3 separate regions of the Homo sapiens genome follow, and all the other regions are linked to region 3. Evidence: promoter capture Hi-C in 16 types of primary human blood cells and fetal thymus (Javierre and others, 2016). All regions are on one chromosome and are shown on one strand. Each heading gives the region's core, a stretch centred on a gene start or on the middle of the fragment in contact. The rest is flanking DNA. Distances are from core to core; before and after follow the strand shown.

Region 1 (3,328 bases), core at 84-2,583, 41 kb before region 3:
GGGATACTTCCCAAAGCAGCTCTTCCTCACAGTCTACTGACTGCTCCCAAGTTAGATCCAGGGCTCAGGAGGATCAAGGTGCTCTCCTGTGGCCTGGATTGCACAATTCCCTAGAGGGAAAATGAACCACAGAAAGGCACTCAGTTACCCTCTCCCATATCAGGGATTCACTCCCAGTTTTTGGCCAATTGCAGCCCTGCAGGCTGCCTGCCCTCCTTCTCTTCCCCAGATTCTGGAGATTCCCTTTGCTTTTCTTTTGAACTCCTATGTTCCCTCTTGGATAATATGTTCAAAGTGTGATTGCCCAGACACTAGTTTGGTTCATAGAAGTGGATAAGGTGAACTGAAAAAGCCTCTAGTCAGCCATCTTGGGGAAAGAAAACCAAAATTGTATTTTTCTCTTGAAAATTCTACTTTTATATTGACCAATAAATAAATAAATAATAAAACCCTGTCATTTGCCTTCCTTTAAGTGACAAGTTTACTTGGTTGATTTTTGAGAGAATACCTGCAAAGGTTTCTCAGTCCTTCTTTAATGCAAAGTTCAGCTCCCAATGTAAAGTTCACCTCTCAATGTAAATAATCACACAAATGCTTTTTCTTGAGACAACTGTGGAACTTCAGTATACAGCACAGAACGTTCATTGCACAGATATTAAAAAGAGATGTATTTAGGCCAGGCGTGGTGGCTCACGCCTGTAATCCCAGCACTTAAGAACGCCGAGGCAGGCAGATCATGAGGTCAGGAGTTTGAGACCATCCTGGCTAACACGGTGAAACCCCGTCTCTACTAAAAATACAAAAAAATTAGCTGGGCGTGGTGGCGGGCGCCTGTAGTTCCAGCTACTCGGGAGGCTGAGGCAGGAGAATGGTGTGAACCCAGGAGGCAGAGCTTGCAGTGAGCCGAGATCGCGCCACTGCACTCCAGCCTGTGCGACAGAGCGAGACTCCATCTCAAAAAAAAAAGAGATGTATTTAAGAGTTGATATTTAATAAAATGACTCTTTACTGCTTTATCAAAGACATCCTAAAGTTAAATTGACTTCCTTTAAAAAATACAAATCTGGGTGGAGAGGCTCATCTCTGTAATCCCAGCTACTTGGGAGGCTGAGGTGGGAGGATCACATGAGGCCAGCAGTATGAGACCAGCCTGGATAACATAGCGAGACCCCATCTCTAAATAAAATAAAATTACCCAGGTACGGTGGTGAACACCTACAGTTCTAGCTACTCAGGAGACTGAGGCAGGAAGACTGCTTGAGCCCAGGAGTTTGAGGCGGCAGTGAGCTATGATCATGCTACTGCACTCCAACCTAGGCAACAGAGCTAGACCCTGTCTCAAACAAACAAACAAAACTATGAACGTGTAGTGATGAAGAATACAATGGCTGCTAATAAATATCTTTTTTTGCTATTACCTTGATTGATGCTGAAGTGCCAGCAGTTTTACCCACCATCGTTTTGTACCATCAGTGCAAATTTCAACACAGTAGATAACCGCTTAAAATTGGAAATATCAGTGTTTACTGTAAAATTATTTAAACTCTTCTGTAAGTTTGAAATTTTTCATAAGAAAATATTAGGGGAAAAGTCATTATGGAAAAGATAAACTTTTCAATAAACTGTATAGGAACAACAAGGTAGCTATATAATAATATAAATAAAGATGGCTGTCTCACAATATATTTAAAATAAATCTCAGGTAGATTAAGTACGTCAACTAGGCTGGGTGTGGTGGCTAATGCCACCAAAGCACTTTGGACAATTTGAGAAGACCTCATCTCTAAAAAAAATTTGTTTAAATTAGCTGGGGTGGGGGTGCATACCCGTAGTCCCAGCTACTCAGGAGGCTGAGGCAGGAGGATCCTTTGAGCCAGGAGTTTGAGGCTGCAGTGAGCTATGATCATGCCACAGTACTCCAGCCTGGGTGTCTCTTTAAAAAAAAGTATGTCAGGCTTTAAAAAAAATCAGGCTTTAAAAAATTTTATATATTATATTATATTTTATTTTTATTTTTAGGAACATGATCTTGCTCTGTTGCCCCAGATGAAGTGCAGTGGTATAATCATAGCTCAAGGTAACCTCAAACTCCTGGGCTCAAGTGATCCTCTCACCTCAGCCTCCCAAGTAACTAAGACTACAGGTATGCACCACCATGCCTGACTTTTTTTTTTTTTTTTGGAGAGATACAGTCTCACCACGTTGCCAAGGATGGTCTCAAACTCCTGGCCTCAAGTGATCCTCCAGCCTCAGGCTCCCAAAGTGCTCTTTAGCAAAGCTCATTACCCAAGATAAGGGAAAAGATATTCAGGTATGGTGACATGCCTGTAGTCCCAGCTACTTGGGTGGCTGAGGTGGCGGAGGATTGCTTGAGCCCAGGAGTTCGAGGTTTCAGCGAGCTATGATTACACCATTGCACTCCAGCATGAGTGACAGAGTGAGACTTCCATCTCTTAAAAAAAAACAAACAGAAATGTTCACACAAAGACATGTACATAAATGTTACCAGAAGCATTATTCATAATAGCCAAAAAGTGGGAACAACCCAAATATCCAACAACTAATGTTTGAAAAACAAAATGAGACATATCTATACAATGTAACACTATTAAGCAAAAAAGGACTTAAGTACTGGTACATGCCTGAGCAAATAAACCTCAAAACATTATACTGAATGGAAGAAGCAAGTCTTATAAGACCACATATTGCATGATACTATTTACATGAAATGTTCTCAGAAGGCAAATCTGTAGAAACAGTAGCTTATTGGTTGCCTAGTCTGATTACTAATGGATATGAAGTTTTGGGGAGGGGGTATATGAAAATGTTCTAAAAATTAATTTTTTTTTGGAGACAGAATCTCACTCTGTCACCTAGGCTGGAGTGCAGTGGTGCTATCTCAGCTCACAGCAACCTCCAGCTCCCAGGTTCAAGCGATTCTCCTGCCTCAGCCTCCTGAGTAGCTGGGATTATAGGTGTGCCACCATGCCCGACTGTGTGTGTGTGTGTGTGTGTGTGTGTGTGTGTGTGTATTTTTAGTAGAGACAGGGTTTCACCATGTTGGCCAGGCTGGTCTCGAACTCCTGACCCCAGGTGATCCACCCATCTCGGTTTCCCAAATTTCTGGGATTACAGGCGTGAGCCACCACGGCAGGCCCTAAAATTAAATCATAGAGATGGTTGCACAATTCTGTGAAAATAATTTTTTTCTTTTTTCCTCTGTTTTTTTTTTTGAGACGGAGTCTCGCTCTGTTGCCCGGGTTAGAGTGCAGTGGCAAGATCTCGGCTCACTGCTAGCTCCACCTCCCGAGTTCATGCCCTTCTCCTG
Region 2 (3,659 bases), core at 930-3,429, 63 kb before region 3:
ATACACCAAGAGAATTGAGATTCTGAAGCTACAGAAAAGCCATTTCCCCAACGACCATCTCGAGTTTAATCACAGATGATGACGGAAAAGGAAATTATGCTTGGAGAGCAGAAACAAAGGTTCACCAGGTAACTTATTTCACTGCCACAGAAAGAAATTGTGACAAGGCCAACAGTGTAAACCAGTGGCTACCATGTGGTGTTCACTGCTGCTGCCCTCCTGGAACTGGGGGACCCTAGACTTGTCTCTATCCCTCTACATTTGGATGGCTGGATGTGTTTAATTTATCTTTAATTATAGGTCTATAGACCATAAAGAACTACTCCCCACTCTGAATGGGAACAGGATCCTAGACTTGTATTAATGTAGTACAAGAACCAACATATGGGTTGCAGCAAATATCTGAAGATGGATGGCTGGGAAGAAGGGTGTGACAGGTGCTGCCTGGCCAAGGAAGGTGAAGGCAGACAGTGCTGCTTACCCAGTGGTTCTTCTGCCCTGTTCCTGGCTGGCAGTAACCTGATTTTTTTCCACCCCCATCTAGGTGATGTGCTTCAGTCAGGGAAGTGAAGACCCATTTCTATCCCCAGTCCCGCTTCCAAAAGGTAAAGCATAATTTATCTGAGCCAACGGAGATAGCCCCATTTCCCTTTCCAGAGCCTCCCTCAGACAGGGGCATGTGACAAAAATTTAGCCTGTTGAACATGATCAGTCTGCTTGGGACTTCCTGGGATGAGTTTTCCTGTCTGACAGACTCGTGTGTGAAGAAACAGCCCTTTTTATTTCATTGGCCACTGGTATATCCACAGGCATCAACTAGAACTGCAAGAGCCATCTGAGGGCCATTAAAGAAGGTAACCTAAGGAAAATGTCAACATACCTAGATGGGCCCTTGGCGATTGAGTGAGTCAATCACTTAGTTGATCCTGGAGCTGCCCCACTTCAGGACCTTTTGTGATGTGTAATAATAAATCACTTCTGCTTAAATTAGTTGGTCTGGGATTGACCAACAACTGCAGCTGAAACAATCCTAGTAATGCAAGGACTAACTGTTGATTTATGCTGTCATGCTAGTGATAGAATAAATGGGGTATTCAGGGAAATATATCTGACAGTAACATCGAAGATGAATTAATATAAAAAGAGTACAATGAATAAATTTAGCTAAATACAACAATCCAGACATGACAATACTGGCCTCGTTTTGAGTGGGAATTGAGACGATGAGGGTTTTAAAAGACCTCTTTTTAAAGGAACAAAATGCTAACAACACTGTACCAAAATTAGTAAGGGAGCCCTGCACAGAAAGGAAATTCAAGCTGACTTCCCCAGTGTTAGGAAAAAAAACTTAGAATTTAAAAAACAGGATAAACAAAGAGAAGAAAGATGAAAAGAAGGTGGTATGTAGGTGGAGCAGTGGGAGAGACGATTCCAGTTTCTGAAAACGAGGCCAGGGAGTGGTATGAGGGAGATGCCAGTGAATCAATCAAAACCAGGACCAAAGGGCAGATAAAAGATCAGTATGGCTATCAATTACCAGTAGAGGAAAAGAGCTTCAATCTTCCGAATGGAAGTTATTAAGGTTTGAATGTGTCCCCTCTAAAACTCATGTTGAAACTTACTCCCCATTGTGGTGGTATTAAGAGAAGATTAAGTTGTGCCCTCATGAATGGATTAGTCGTTTCTAAAAGGGCTTGAGGGAATGATCTTAGGCCTTTTTTGCCCCTCTTTCTGTCCCACAGTGTTCCTCACCTCCAGAGGATGCAGCAACAAGGCGTCATCTTGGAAGCACAGAGCAGGCCCTCACCAGACACCAAACCTGCCAGCACCTTGGCTTTGGACTTTCCAGCCTTCAAAACTGTGAGAAATAAATTTCTGTGCTTTATAAAATTACCTAGTCTATAGTATTTTATTACAGCAACACAAATAGACTGAGACAGAAGTCTTCTTTTTTTGAGATGAGATCTCACTATCACCCAGGCCAGAGTCTAGTGGCACAACCATAGTTCACTGCAGCATCAAATTCATGGGCTCAAGCAATCCTCCCACCTCAGCCTCCCAAGGAGCTGGGACAACAGGTGCACACCACCATGCTCAGCTAATGCGTAAGTCTTTTAAAAGTTACACTATATGAGGGAAATGAAGAATAAAGACCCCTTGGATTCAGAAGAGCAAGAGAAGCCCAGTGGAACATGAAGGGAAAAAGTGCTCGGTCATGCAGCAGAAGAGCAGGATCAACAGGTGTCACTGCAGGATCATGGACACTATCACATGACAAAGGAATGTGCTCAGAAGGTATAGAGTGATAATGTTAAAGCCATTAGCAAGGCCAGGCATGGTGCCTGACACCTGTAATCCTAGCACTTTGGGAGGCCGAGGTGGGCGGATCACAAAGTCAGGAGATCGAGACCATCCTGTCTAATGTGGTGAAACCCTGTATCTACAAAAAATACAAGAAATTAGCCGGGCGTGGTGGCAGGTGCCTGTAGTCCCAGCTACTTGGAAGGCTGAAGCAGGAGACCCGGGAGGCAGAGCTTGCAGTGAGCCGAGATTGCACCCCTGCACTCCAGCCTGGGCGACAGAATGAGACTCCGTCTCAAAAAAAAAAATCCATTAGCATAGAGAAGCACAAAAGGGGTAGAATCTACTAACAGGTTTCAAAAAGAAGGAAGATGGGACTGTGGTTGTTGAATTTATGTGTAAGGGATTTAAATGTAATTTTCAAAATGTAGAAAGGAAAGGGAAGGATCATGAGAGTCACATCAAGTGAAGGAAAGAGGAAAGGCTTGCTAAAATGCACAATGAAATGAGTCTATCACCAAGATAGAGTAAGGAGGGAAATAAGGGTGCCAACGAGAAGATTAAGAGTGGATGGTAAGGCCGGGCACGCTGGCTCACGCCTGTAATCCCAGCACTTTAGGAGACTAAGGCAGGCGGATCACCTGAGGTCAGGAGTTCGAGACTAGACTGGCCAACACGGCAAAACCCCATCTCTACTAAAAATACAAAAATTGGCCGGGCATGGTGGCGCACAACTGTAACCCCAGCTACTCAGGAGGCTGACACGGAAGAATTGCTTGAACCCAGGAGGCAGAGGATGCAGCGAGCCGAGATCACGCCACTGCACCCCAGCCTGGGCAACAAAGTGAAACTCTGTCTCAAAAAAAAAAAAAAAAAAGTGCATGGTAATACACGAGGCAAAGTACAAACAAGAGGAGCACATCACATTGGAATTCATGCTAATTCTAAATAAAGAAGAAAAGATTTGTCTCCATCACTCACTTGGACAGGTCTGATTTGGAACTTGGGCCTGCACCATACACAGCTCTTCTCCTTGTTCCAACTTGAAGATGATATCAGGTTTGGTGTGTTGGTACCCTATAAATAGAAAAATCACAGACAACCTGGAACAAACAGCTTGAGATTCAGAGATTCTGAAGAACGGGAAAGATTTGGTTTGGAGGTAGCATGATGAAGCTGCCTTTTTGCAATTTGGCAAAGTAAAGACCATTCAACTGGCATACTCTGCTGCCAATAGGGAACTAAGAAAATCTGGCCTTAAAATCTAAGTCCAAAATCACTAAGTATTTCATAGAAGCCCTCCAGTTTTCAGCAACCAAGAAGAAGCCTGGAGATCGAGCACACTCCTCCTCAGGGAG
Region 3 (3,309 bases), core at 252-2,751:
AATGCATGCTGAGAGAAGTAATCAAAAAACAAATGTAACTTTCAAAAAGAGGCAGGAGCGTGTGCAACTTACCATCCAAGAGGCTTTGGAAGATGGGGGACAATTTTAGTAAAACAGAAGAGATTAGTTATGTCACAAGAGAAAAGTTAGTGTGGAGGTAATTTTCAAAAGGGTAGGGAGGATTTGTGCTATCCAGTTCTCGGAGACCTAACTGCAGTCATTTCTAACCTAATAACACTTGTTGGCTGGCATTCTGGGTGACATCCTGCCTTCCCTTTTACTTTTTTTTTTTTAATTAACAGTATCTTTCTGCAATTAATGTATAGCTGGAATTGAAATTGTTCACCTTCTGCATACACTTTGGGTGGGATCTACGTACGAAATCTTGATGTTAACCTTATCTTTGACACTCATATTATGTGTTAGATGGCGTATATATATCTAGTGTCAAGGGAAAATAAAAATATAGTAATTAAACTTATGATCTGTCTCTGAAAATAAAAAAAATAGATTAACCACACAAACACGCCTTCAGTTAATCTATCTGATTAAAAAACAAAACAAAGATGAGGAAGCTAAGAGCTAGAGATGCAGGATTTGTTTTTAAAAGACCACACACGAATCGGCGTCACTATTTCAACAAATACTAGAAAGGCCATATGCAAAATTTTAAACATCTATCCCAGCTGGGGGGAAAAATGGAAGTTAGACTAGAAGAAACCTTATTTTGTATTACTGAAAATATCTGGTTCAAACTTACCACCACCGCCGCCCACTCTGCGTCAATCTCCAGGTGCAGCCGTTATTCTCCACAGAACAAGAACGTCCGCCGTGAACGCCGGGGCCGCGCGAGGGACAGAAAGTGACTGAGGCAAGGGGTGACGATCACCGTTAAATTTTTTCATTGACGAAATTACCGTCTACCTAGAAATACGAAGCTAATACACTGCTACATTACTAAAGGGCTCAACACGCGCCTGATGACGATGCAAACACAAAATTCAGCACTTTCGTATATACCTGCAATAAGCAACTAGAAGGTTCGATGGGAGAAAGCGATCCCGTCACAAAGGCAGCAGCAACAGCAAAACAGAGAACGCGACTCCATTCACCAGCGGAGCGCGAAGAGCGGCGTCAGAGGTGAGTCTGAGGCCGGCTCGGCACGGCGGCGCCACCTCCCCGTGGCCTGACGTCACGCACGCGCACGCGCCCCGCCCCCATTGGTCCTACGCCCGCCCCTGCTGCGAACGCACGCACACGCACCCACAACACACACCGTTACGCACGCGCCCCAGCCTGGCGTTCAGGCCACGCTCCGCCCCCAGCCCGTCAGCCGCGCGCCCCGGGACCCTAGAGCCGGCGATTCGTCGCCGGCGCCGCAGCCGCCACTCTGTGCCGGACCCTGCGGGCCTTCGGCCCAGAGCGCGTCCGTGACGCACAGACCAGGCCCCTCTGCGGGGCGGCGCAGGAGCTCCTGGGAAACGTAGTTCGGCCTCGCGTCCCCCTCGGGCGGGACCGCGGACGCCTGGAGGCAGGCACTGAGGACGGGTGAGCATGCGGGCCTGTGGCTCGTTCACCCGGGACAAGTCCCTCGTGGGATCAGCCTGGCCCGCTGAGTTCTCCTGCGTGCAGGGATCGCCTCACGGGAGTCTGAGCAGCAGGGAGCCTGCCCGGGAGGCGGCGGTGGGAGAGGCCCTTGAGGGAGGAGGGGCTACTTACCGGGTGCGAGTGGAGCGCGGGGAGCGAGTGGGGACCAGGGGCGCGCGGGGCGGAGGGGTCCCGGGCTGGCTGCGGGTGCCACGCAGGGAGCGCTGGGGGGCCGGGGATGCGCGTTTGCCTCCTTCTCTAAGCAACACGGGAGGGCTAAAGGGTGCACGCCTCTGTCCAGCAGCCTCTCTTGAATCTCTAAACCTAGTAATGAGTTGAATCACAGCCATCGTTTTTTTCACCTATTGCCTTATACTGTGGTTGAATGCGATATGGTTTTATTTCTTTAATACTCTGGTGTATTCAATTGGCTGTTTCCCTTTGACTTCACCTATGCTCACAAGATTGTGTTTTAATCTTTTTGTGTACTATCCTTGCCCGTTATACTAACAAGATTTTACAAGCTTCATGAATAATTTGGACAGCACAGTCTCTCTTCTATTCTGTAAAACAGGTCACCACCCCTCACCGCCCCCCGCCCGCCTCCAAAAGTTTGGTGCTATTTGGTCTTAAAATATTTAGTACGCATTTAACTTCTGACTCAATTTTTTTTTTTTTTTTTTTTGAGACAGAGTTTCGCTCTTTGTTGCCCAGGCTGGAGTGCAATGGCGCCATCTTGGCTCACAGCAACCTCCGCCTCCCGGGTTCAAGTGATTCTTCTGCCTCAGTCTTGTGAGTTGCCGGGATTACAGACATGAGCCACCACGCCCAGCTAATTCTGTATTTTTAGTGGAGATGGGGTTTCTCCATGTTGGTCAGGCTGGTCTGGAACTCCCGACCTCAGGTGATCAGCCTGCCTCGGCCTCCCAAAGCGCTGAGATTACAAGCGTGAGCCACCGCACCCGGCCCTGACTCAATTTTTTAAAAAGTCTCATTGATTAGGTTTTTTAGTTCGTATTCTGTTTTAGATACCTTTCCTAGATAATTGTTTTTAATCTAATTTTTCAAATTTATTGGCATAAAATTGCCCATGCTATTTTATCACTGTAAGTAATTTCTATGGTGATTTTTAAAATCACCACTTTTTAATATTTTACTGCTGTAATTGTTATTTTTTTCTTTTTTGAACCTAATTATCTAGGCCTTTTTTTCTTGATTACTCCTATAAGGTATATGTGTACATAGTCTTTTCAAAAATGTAGATTTGGTTTTGGTTTTTTTGTTGTTTTGTTTTGGTCTTTTTTGGGGAGGGGGGTCCTATTACAGTAAGTTTTGCTCTTAATTTTTAAATTTTTCTTTTACTTTGTCTCTGTTTTTCTACTTTTTTTTTTTTTTCGAGACAGAGTTTCACTCTGTCTCCAGGCTGGAGTGCAGTGGCGTGATCTCGGCTCACTGTAGCCTCTACCACCCGGATTCAAGCGATTCTCCTGCCTCAGGCCCCACCACGCCCGGCTAATCCAGCTAATTTTTGTTTTTGTTTGTTTGTTTGTTTTTGAGACAGAGTCTCTCTCTCTCGCCCAGGCGGGAATGCAATGGCAGGATCTCTGCTCACTGCAACTTCCACATCCCGGGTTCAAGCCATTCTCCTGCCTCAGCCTCTGGAATAGCTGGGATCACAGGCGCACACTGCCATGCCCGGTTAATTTTTTGTATTTTTTAGTA

What was found. Contacts are between HindIII fragments. The CHiCAGO score rates a contact against its expected background, and 5 or more counts as called.
Region 1: a contact is called between a fragment that was not itself captured here and the fragment with the promoter of ZNF891 in region 3, in 1 of 17 cell types (erythroblasts). The highest score is 5.6, in erythroblasts.
Region 2: a contact is called between a fragment that was not itself captured here and the fragment with the promoter of ZNF891 in region 3, in 6 of 17 cell types (naive CD8 T cells, total CD4 T cells, naive CD4 T cells and 3 more). The highest score is 7.0, in naive CD8 T cells.

The regions. Positions count from the first base shown.
Region 1 is chr12:133,169,047-133,172,374 of GRCh38, reverse strand. No RefSeq gene overlaps it. Among named protein-coding and RNA genes, the nearest start is that of ZNF268, 11 kb to the left of the region's middle. The HindIII fragment of the contact is 7,086 bases long and covers 1-3,328 here.
Region 2 is chr12:133,191,627-133,195,285 of GRCh38, reverse strand. It overlaps ZNF268 (zinc finger protein 268), which reads right to left. Exons shown (of 6, transcript NM_003415.3): 5 at 3,283-3,378. Among named protein-coding and RNA genes, the nearest start is that of ZNF268, 12 kb to the right of the region's middle. The HindIII fragment of the contact is 4,524 bases long and covers 1-3,659 here.
Region 3 is chr12:133,128,466-133,131,774 of GRCh38, reverse strand. It overlaps ZNF891 (zinc finger protein 891), which reads left to right and starts at 1,501. Exons shown (of 2, transcript NM_001277291.2): 1 at 1,501-1,548. It overlaps ZNF10 (zinc finger protein 10), which reads right to left and starts at 1,148. Exons shown (of 5, transcript NM_015394.5): 1 at 1,021-1,148. RefSeq lists an enhancer at 766-1,045 and silencers at 1,096-1,335, 1,706-1,885. The HindIII fragment of the contact is 7,004 bases long and covers 1-2,113 here.